3 separate regions of the Homo sapiens genome follow, and regions 1 and 3 are each linked to region 2. The links are contacts of gene promoters, found by promoter capture Hi-C in blood cells and fetal thymus (Javierre and others, 2016). All regions are on one chromosome and are shown on one strand. The core of a region is centred on a gene start or on the middle of the fragment in contact, and the rest is flanking DNA. Distances in the headings are between cores, read along the strand shown. Region 1 holds the start of ACAP2 (ArfGAP with coiled-coil, ankyrin repeat and PH domains 2). Region 2 holds the start of NRROS (negative regulator of reactive oxygen species). Region 3 holds the start of FYTTD1 (forty-two-three domain containing 1).

What was found. Contacts are between HindIII fragments. The CHiCAGO score rates a contact against its expected background, and 5 or more counts as called.
Region 1: a contact is called between the fragment with the promoter of ACAP2 here and the fragment with the promoter of NRROS in region 2, in 1 of 17 cell types (fetal thymus). The highest score is 5.1, in fetal thymus.
Region 3: a contact is called between the fragment with the promoter of FYTTD1 here and the fragment with the promoter of NRROS in region 2, in 1 of 17 cell types (naive B cells). The highest score is 5.3, in naive B cells.

Annotation. Positions count from the first base shown.
Region 1 is chr3:195,441,725-195,445,000 of GRCh38, reverse strand. It overlaps ACAP2 (ArfGAP with coiled-coil, ankyrin repeat and PH domains 2), which reads left to right and starts at 1,981. Exons shown (of 23, transcript NM_012287.6): 1 at 1,981-2,206. The coding sequence starts at 2,154. RefSeq lists silencers at 1,617-2,116, 2,237-2,456, 2,477-2,526 and enhancers at 1,938-2,437, 2,977-3,066. The HindIII fragment of the contact is 4,201 bases long and covers 1-3,276 here.
Region 2 is chr3:196,638,197-196,641,463 of GRCh38, reverse strand. It overlaps NRROS (negative regulator of reactive oxygen species), which reads right to left and starts at 1,770. Exons shown (of 3, transcript NM_198565.3): 1 at 1,589-1,770. RefSeq lists an enhancer at 1,014-1,133 and silencers at 1,584-1,683, 1,704-2,133. The HindIII fragment of the contact is 14,541 bases long and covers 1-3,267 here.
Region 3 is chr3:197,748,402-197,751,445 of GRCh38, reverse strand. It overlaps FYTTD1 (forty-two-three domain containing 1), which reads right to left and starts at 1,563. Exons shown (of 9, transcript NM_032288.7): 1 at 1,372-1,563. The coding sequence starts at 1,474. It also overlaps a transcript of RUBCN not described here. RefSeq lists silencers at 1,057-1,326, 1,427-1,766. The HindIII fragment of the contact is 7,876 bases long and covers 1-2,748 here.

The sequences.
Region 1 (3,276 bases), core at 732-3,231, 1.2 Mb after region 2:
AGCTATCAAGAAAAGCTGTGTGGTTTCCAGGAATACACAATTAAAAAAGAAATCAAGTTTATAAGCAAAGAATAAATGAATATAATGCTTCTATATTCTCTGAAATGCCTCAGAATTATACTGTTAATTTTCCTTTTTCCTTTTTTTTTCTTTTGATACAGTGTTTTGCTCTGTCTACCCAGGCTGGAGTGCAGTGGCACAATCATGGCTCACTGCAGTCTTGACTTCCTAGGCTTAAGTGACCCTTCCACCTCAGCCTCATGAGTAACTGGGACTATAGGCATGTGCCTGGCTAATTTTTTGTATATTTTTGTAGAGTTGTAGAGACAGGATTTCACCATGTTGCCCAGGCTGGTCTGGAACTCCTGGAGCAAGGAATCTGCTCACCTCGGCCTCCCAAAGTGCTGGGATTACAGGTGTGAGCCACCATGCCCTGTCTATACTGTTAATTTCTAAAGATGCTAAAGAGATCAAGATATCTCTTGATGGGTTACGAAAAACAGTATGTCATCACGCTATACTTAGCCAGACGGTCAGAAAGTTATATTAAGACTTTAGAAGGCTGGGTGTGTGGCTCACACCTGTAATCTCAGCATTTTGGGAGGCTGAGACAGAAGGATCACTTGAGGCCATGAGTTTGAGACCAGCCTGGGGAACGGAACGAAATTGTTTGATTGTTTTTGAGACAAACAAAAACTTCAGACAGTGAAAGTGAGAGAACTTAGACTTAAGCCCTTTGATTATAGTACTGAAGAGGCAAATGGTACAATTAAAATAGCCAACATTTACTGAATGATCGATATGTGGCACTGTGTTAACCGGACAACTTCATCAGATCTGTGTGTTATGTTCATTTTAAAGTGAGAAAGCTGGGACCTAAATCCAGGAAGTTTGCCTCCAGATTCTCACTCAGAGCCACTATGCTGTTAGAACACCCTGTATATTCATTTTTATAGATACGCCCGTGTTTTTTAGGTTGGCTTAAAAATTACTCATTACATATAAGACATCTTTGTACTTTTTACAATCAATGGCATCTTAAAATGAAGGAGTATGGTAAATACCTGCCGTGAGGATCAGATGATAAGTATCTTAAAGTGCTTCTAGAAAAAGTGTGGATTAGAGGGGCAGGTGTTGCAAGGTGAGTACGATGAGCCTGGTCTTCAGAACCCCACCATGGCAGAACAGTGAAAACCACCAGGAGCAAAGTGTCAGTGAGGGGGAATGCTTTCGGCAGTTTTGAGAGGAGTTCCTCCACACGAAGCACCCTACCTCCCATACCTGCCTAAATCTTTCTATGTCCAACCCAAACGGCAGCTCCTTCAGGAAGTGGTCTCTGGCTATATGAGAAGATGTACATGGGAGCAATTTCCAGATTATGAAGCTATGGAACAAATACATGAAAGATGGATTTTATCACTAAAGTTATCCTCGCTCCTCTTCTGGCCTCAGTTTCTCTAAACTGAAAGGAATAGGTGGCTTAGCCTATCTCTTCCTTTTATAATTTCTGCCTCTAACCTCTTCAGATTTCTGCCAATCTGCTTTGAAAAGCAAATTTCCTTCCTCAGACCTGCAGGAGACTGCTCCTCTGGGCTGGCAGCTCAGCAGGGCGGGGCTCGGGGAGCAGGAGAAGAGGCGGGGGCTCGGAGGGAAGCGCGGCCGCAGCCACGTGACTTCCTTCCCAAGGAACCTCAGCTGCCGGCCTCCCAGCAACCGGTGCGTCCCGCCTAGCGACGCCCGCGCATCCCGGTTGGCCCTCGGGGGCGGTTGTGGCAAGGAGGTGCCCACGGTCGCGCTGCTCATTGGCTCGGGTTGCCGTCGCTCAGACCCGTTGCCCGGGCGCCCGCAGGCGGTGCTGCCGGATGCCCCGCCCCTTGGCCGCCAGGTTCGTGGCTGGCTGGCCGCTGCTGTCACTCCCCGGCCGTTTCCCTGCGGCCAGCGCTCTACTTGGGGCGGGAGGAAGAGGGGCGGGACTGGGGCCTGACTAGTCGTCGCCGTCTTCGCGGCTGCTATGACCAGCGGGCGAGGCGCCCTTCGCAGCTCCGCGCAACGCTAGTCGCGGCCGTGCGCCCGCCGTAGCCGTCTGCGTCCCAGCGCGGCCGCTCCCGCGGCCCCCTCGGCTTTGCCAGCGCCGCCTGCGAGGCGGAGGCAGGATGAAGATGACTGTGGATTTCGAGGAGTGTCTGAAGGACTCGCCCCGCTTCAGGTAACCGGCACGGCCGCCCGGCGTCACCGCGGAGCTGCCTTCCCGGCGCTGGGGGCGTGAAAGCCGGGCCCGCGCACCCGGAGGAGGCCCCGCCGTCCGCTCCTTCCGACGGGGCGAGCGGCTGTTGCCGCCGTTTCCCACCCTGCGAGGGCACTGCAGTCCCCACCGAGCCCTCCCGAGGGGCGACGAAGTGGCGGGGACGGGGACGTCGCCTCTCATTTCTTTCCTTGCCCTCTGCCGGGGCGGAGCGCCCCGAAGGCCGGCGCACCCTCTCCCGCTGGGGGAAATGGGGTGCAGCCGCGCTCCCGAAGTCCCGTCCCCTTCGCGGGCGCTCGCTCTCGCCCCCTTCCTCCTCTGGCTGCTCTTCCTTCCCCCTTCCTTCCGCCCCTTCTTGGTTTCCACCCCCTCCCCACCCCCTCTTTGAGGGAGCTTTCAGGGCATCCTCTTGCAGTTCATTTAGTTCCTCTTTGCGCTTTTCTGCCCCCCTTCCCCGGGGAGGAGAGAGTAGGGGGCGAACTGGGACGCCGACTTCTGCTTCGCGGTGCCCCCGGCCAGAGCGACTCTCCGGAGGGCGCCCGCGGTGGATGCGTGCGGGAATCGCGGGGGGAAGCGCTGTGATCAACCGCATTCCGTGGACCCTAGTTGGTGACTACCTGCTTTTCTTTCCACTTAAGCTCGTTGAAGGGGGCACAGCTGTCGAGAGGTACCGGGCTGAGGGCGGAGGACTAGCAGAAAAGTGCATTTCTGTTTTGAGAACGGAAGTAGGAGGGCCGTGAAGATTGCCTGTGTGTTCCTCTTCCAGCAGCCTCTGCCCAGGAGGGCCCGGATCACAGTCGGATGCTCCCAGTGGATCTGTCACAGAGTTGACATGGGGGCACTCCGATTCACATGGGTTGCCCTTCTTTCTATGTGAGAGGCGGTCGTCCTGAGGCCGTCCAGGACACAGGTTCTTTCTGTTTTGAGGATAGTAGGAAAGTCTTGAGTTGTTTTGGACAATGGAGTTTTTCTAGGTTGCGTTTTACAGTGTATTTATTTACAGGGCTGGTCATAGTCCTTACAAATATAAGGCC
Region 2 (3,267 bases), core at 521-3,020:
GCAGGAGGATTGCTTGAGCCCAGGAGTTTGAGACCAGCCTGGGCAACACAGCAAGATCCTGTGTCTACAAAAAAATTTTAAAAATTAGCTGGCATGGTGGTGTGCACCTGTTGTCCTAGCTCCTCAGGTGACTGAAGCAGGAGCATTATTTGAGCCCAAGAGTTTGAGGCTGCAGTGATCTGTGATCGTGCCACAGAACTCCAGTCTGGGCAACAGAGCAAGAGCCTGTCTCTAAAAATAAATAAATAAATATATATATTTTTAAAAAGTGCCTTCTTTGTGAAGCTGAGTTTGTTTTGTTTTGTTTTGTTTTGTTTTGTTTTTTTAACCTAAAGGCAGGAGTTAAGGTTTTTTCCTGGGCCCATGATTCTATAATCTCCTTTAGGGACTCTCGGGCACACACACACAAACCTAAGAGGTGTGTGAGGAGAATAAATACGTATTGTAAATGTAAAGCCCAGCAAACCCTCAGCATCCACAGAACAGTCTGTGTGTCACAGCCGGCAGGTGAGGAGCACACAGGAAAGCATGGAGGGCCACAGACGCTGAATGTTTCTAGCACCCAGACTCCTAACGGGCTGTGCCCATCATGAAGAAGCCTCCGGTGGGGTCCCCTCAGCCCCTAGGGAAGCACAGCAGCCCCGACCAGCCCTGTCCGGAGAGGCTCCATTCCTAGGACCCCCGATCCGGCCTCCTCCAGTCGCAGCCACCAACTGGCACGTGTCCACCTTCTCTCAGAGGCAGCACAAAGCCACACCAGTGGCTCCTTACTTCTTTCCGTCTAGCTCCTGGGTACGTGGGGAAGTACGCTGACCCCTTCAGAAGCCGGCCCACATGCAGGGGCCACGAGGGCTACGGAAGAGCGTCCGAGTCTTCGTCGCCCTCCTGTTAGTCTCCCTCTGATAAGCCATGGATCTAAGTCTAGGCTAAGATCCAAGTCACAGAGCCCCAGTGAATCTCCCAAGGACAAACGTTCTGTGGGAGAAGGGGCTTTGCACATTTTCACAGCTGTATCCCCAGGGCCTTGGACAGGCCTGGCACGTGGACGGCATCTGTGATAGGTGTTGCTGTTAACCAGTCTTAGTGTCTTCATCTATGAGATAGTGGTTCTCAATCCACGTTGTGGGACAGGAAAGGAGAGCCCAGTGCTCAGCATGCTGAGTGTGCACAGAGCGGTCTCATCATATCCAGTCGCCCAGCCCAGGGAGGGAGCATCTCTGTTCCCATTTTGCAGATGAGAAAACTGAGGCTCAGAAACCTTAACTGTCTGCTCACATGCTCCCTGCAGAGCCAGGACTCAAACCCACGTCTGAATCTGAAGCCCTCGTGGTTTCCACTACGTCGCACCACCTTTCTCAGCTCTAAGTGCTCCTGGAGGGAGGTATTTCCACCTCCACCCAGAGCTGCAGCCCCCACGCCCAGCACAAAAGCGGCGGCGCTTGGACGCAGCAAGCCACAGCTTCCTCGTGAGCCCTGAGCTGCGGGCCGCGGACGCTGACCTCCTACCACCCAACCTCGCTCGAGCTCGCCCACCTGGAGAAGGGCCCCGGCTGTGCCCCGGGGACGCCCCCACGCGGGAAATACTCACGGCTCCCGCAGGCGCAGGCGGCTGCGCGGGGCGCATCGTCTCCGGGGGCTCCGGCCTCCTCGAGAGCAGCCGAACGCGGGGCTGGGCTACCTCCTTGCTGTGGGGCATCAGATTATTTTAGCACCAGCGGAAGGAACGGACGGAAACTGAAGTCACATGGAGAGCGGGCTGCTCGGCGACTCAGCACAGGCTCACTCAGACCCGGCCTCTTAGAGGGAAGCGCGGCGCGGGCGCGGGGGTGGGGCGGGCCGGGGGAGCGGGGCCCGAACACCTGCCGGCCTAGCGGCCGAGCAGCGGGGATGTTTAGACGATCTTCCAGCAATGCGACCGAGGCTCCCCCGGCTTTCTTGCGTTGGTGCCTTGGCAGGGCTGGGGGCGGCCAGCTAGGGGCCCCTTGCCTATGAGGTCTGCTGACCCAGAAACTTTGCTACGAGCTTCCAGCCAAGGACCAAGCTGAGGCCGACTTTGGGAACGGCAGCACCGTGGTAAAGAGGCACAGCCTGTCGTCTGGCAGGGTCAGCCGCTCAGCCAGTCTGTCTTCTTATCCACTCAGCCGGTCCTTGTGGATCATCTCCTTTACGGACCCTGTGTTAGAAAGAAGGGGAATTGCTTTGTCGAGGACTGTCAGAGAGTGCCAAGAGCTTCTTGATCTTAGACTGCGCGGATGGGTTTTTTTGTACCTGATGTGTACAAAGTTCCCTGCCAGCTCTTGCCAAGAATTCAAAGGAGTAAGAATAATTGATCATATAGCCATCATTGAAGCAGCGCCAGACACTGTGCTAAGAGCTTCATATGCATTACCCCAGCGCTCCTGTTCTCGAGGAACTACTGTCGTCTAGAGAAGGTGAAATATTTACAGTGCCTGCTGCGTGTGGAGTGACGTGGACCACCATAGTCGGGGGCTCAGACAAGGGGCCTCCAGTTCTGATCTCTCTCACTCCCCTTCAAATCTGAAACGTTGAACTGTCCTGCAGGATTGGGTCACCTCTCTTATAGCCTGTGATTTGGGATTGTGTGTAGCATTGTCCATCCTAAGAGAACAGGAGCCAAGTCCTTTTCACTCCAAACATCTGGCACATTGTCTCTGCTTTCTACAATATTCACTCATGGCCGGGCACAGAGGCTCAGGCTTGTAATCCTAGCATTTTGGCAGACCAAGGCAGGTGGACCGCCTGAGTGCAAGACCAGCCTGGGCAACATACTGAGACTCCATATGTACAAAAAATTTAAAACTTAGCCAGACCTGGTGGCACGCACCTGTAGTCCCAGCTATTTGGGAGGCTGAGGTGGGAGGATCACCTGAGCACAGGGAGGTTGAGGCTGCAGTGAGCCAAGATCACGCCATTGCACTTCAGCCTGTGTGATAGAGTGTGACTCCGTCTTTAAAAAAATAAAAATAATTTTAAAAATAAAATATTATCTCATAATGGTAATAACAATCACACCAATGAAAAAGCTAAATAAAGATCAAATTGTTGCAAACCCAGGTGCTTGATTCAGGCCTCTTTCTCTCTTGTATGCACATTCTCTACTTCATGTCTTTTGTGTCTACCAATCAGTTGGTAACTCCCCAATTTTAATTTCTAGCTCCAACATTCTCTTCCACGAGAGAAGATCCAGACTTGCATTTTTAACTGTCTACTGGTCAATCAACTGCTACATGTCCCAGAGTCACCATA
Region 3 (3,044 bases), core at 314-2,813, 1.1 Mb before region 2:
TCGAACTCCTGGGCTCAAGCCATCTGCCTGCCTCCGCCTCCGCCTTCAAAGGGCTGGGATTGCAGGCGTGAGCCACCGCGCCCAGCCCCAGCTTTCTCATTTCTTACAAGCTCACTACTAACCAGCAGCAAGGCAAGACTTGAGGCCAAACCTATTATTTCTGATCATTTGCTTAGTTCACATACTGGATTCTGACTGTGGCAATCGTAGAAATCAATAGTTCCCATCTCACCTGGAACCAAAAACGTTCCAGATAAACCACAACAAAAGACACACAAGACAAATGGGAAGAAATGAAAACCGAAAGAAGGTTTCCAAGACAGTTATCACTCTAAAGACCGTCCTGGGAAAGGGTACGCCTCGGAATCCACTAGTCAGGTACTTTTCAAATATCCGAAAAACTGCCAGCCAAACACCTGGCAGAGCTGACTTACACCCAACGCCATCACTTGAATCCCGACAAAAATATTCGTACTTTTAGCCCACCTAAGCTAACCACAGCGGCTGGTGCCTCGGTAGTGTCAGGGCTGGATTTTAATGGAATCACCAACCTCCCGGTTTTTATATAATCGGCAAGAAACCACGCCACCCTCTCAGATGCGCTCAAGAACCCCACGCTTTACCTGGCTTCTCAGCGAGCCACAGCAATCATCTCTCCTTCAAAGATGTTTGCTTTCTCCCCCATTAGCTAGCTCTGAGGCCTGGAGAGGGAGACTGTGCTTTTCTAGGCAGCGCTCAATACACAACCACATCCCACAGGCGGCCGAGCGCTGCTTCCTTTCTGACAGACGCTCCGGGGCCGCGGCCGGAGGTGGCCCCGAGAGTCGCGCCCGGCAGCCATGGCCGGCGCCGGCCTGGAACGCCCGGCGACCAGGGAAAGCTCCGGAAGCGCTGGTTTAACCGACCGCAGCCCCGGCCGGGCTCTCCAAGACCTTTCTTCAGAGAGAACGGCTCGGTCGGACCATTCCCCTCGCTCCCCGATAACGCCCACCGCGAACGCGCTCCGGGGAAACCGGCAGATCTTTCCTCACAAAGAGCCGGCGAGCGGCGAGCCGTAGCCCCTCCGGGGAGAAGAGACGCCCCCCGCGACCCTGCGAACCTTCGGGCCCGCAGCGCCCCTGCCCCCGCCTCCACAGCCCCTCCTCCGACTGCCGCGGCCGAGGGGACGCCCGGGTCCCTCGCGGTCCAGCCGGGCACCTGGCGTCGAGCCTGCGCTCCCGGCTGTCCTCCGGGCCTCCGCTCGGGTCCGCCCACCAGCGAGAAAACTCCGCCGGCAACTGCTGCCGACCGCCCCTGCCCCCACAAACCGCGCCGCCGGCTTCCACCCGCGCCCTCCCCCGCACTCCAACTCGGTCCAACTCGGCCCCTCACCCAAAGACATATCTATTTTGTCGAGGTTTTCATTGCTGCGGGCCTTCGGCGGCGGCGAAGAAGTCGCCGTGGCTCCCACCAACCGGGTACCAAACCGGTTCATGGCTGGAGACGTCGCGCCGAGAGCGGGCGCGGACAAGGCCGGAGTCGCAGGCCTGCCACCTCCCACTCGCGCACGCAGCCCGCCGCACCGAGGGAGCGCGCACGCGCCGGCGCCGTCCTCGGTCTCCACCCGCGGCTGCGGGCGGGGCGGGGCCACCGACACTCGCGGGCGACCAGAGCGGCCCCGCGCCGTGACTCGCTCCTAGCGGCCCTCGCAGGATCGGACGAGGCATTGCAGCCGCTGTGCTAGGCGCTCGCGAGGACCGCCGTTGTGAGCAGTTCGACTTTCCGCCCAAACTGGGGGATGCTAGACCGCGGGCACCTCTGAATCTTATGCCTTCAGTGATATAATCCTCCGTGTCCTTCGAGTCCCTCCTGCTGCAGACAGGTCCCCTATACTTCGGTACACACGAGCCTTTCGCGCCCACCGCAACGCAGCCTCGGGAGGCAGGACAGACCCCTGCGAGTGTAGATTGCAGCTGCATCCCAGCTCCCCCCTCCCTGGCACGCTCCTCCACCTACAGCTGCGCTGAGCTGCCGCATCTGAACGCAAAGCAAACGCTGCAGTGACGGTTCCTGCGTCACCTTAACTCCAAAGTAAATGCTAACGTTTCCCGTGTCTGTACCTTCTCTCAATCGGCACTCTCAAAACATCTGGCACGGTGTTCACTACCCTAATAAGACCTCAGCTTCCCTCGGGAGGGGTAAGTACCTCTGTTGATGTAGCTGCATTTTCTTCTAATTCATTTGCATTGGGAATGGATAGAAGGGTTCGTTTACTTTTTAATCATCCCTACGGGAAAACAGTTTAATATTTGATGAATTCCTGCATGATAACTTTTTTCCGTTTACAACATACGGTATTTACCTCTCTTCTTACCTCATTCTCCTTCCCTGAAGTAACTGCGTTTATGTGGAAGCGTTTAGGTTATATCACCCTCATACAGCTTAAAACTATCTCGGATATTTACATCTAAGGACAATACCAGATGCATTCTGTCCACCTAGAAATCTCTGTCGCCTTTCTCCTCTCCAATTCATAAAATGCAAAAATTCCTTTAGCATGGAAACCAGCCATCTCAAAACCACAGTAGCCTTTGCTTAATTTAGTCATGTCACAATGTCATGTGGCTTCCAACTTCAACACCAATGACACATTTACTATTTTTTGCTTGGGGATCCCATGTTTTAAAATATTTCTTATGCATGTCACACTTAAAAATTAAAGCCAGCTGTTCCAGCTCCCCTTTCCAGGCCTGAATTTAAAGCAAAGCTTGCAGTGACAATTTTGCGGTCACCTTAACAATAAAAGTAAATGTGAACGTTTCCTGTATATGTAGCATGGATAAAACCAGGAGTCTTCACACAGATTATGTTTCCAGCTGAACTCAAAGAACCATGACTTTTTTGTAAGCCTAGTAGTCTTATCTTGGGGAAATGTATGATTTTTGTTAGGCTTTTGGGAATATTCTAAATAACTTCTTATTCTCAAAGGTTAAGATGTCTCTTTTTTTTTATCATGACAAGGACATAACAATATAGGAAGAGTGAACCACACACCTATCAAGGGG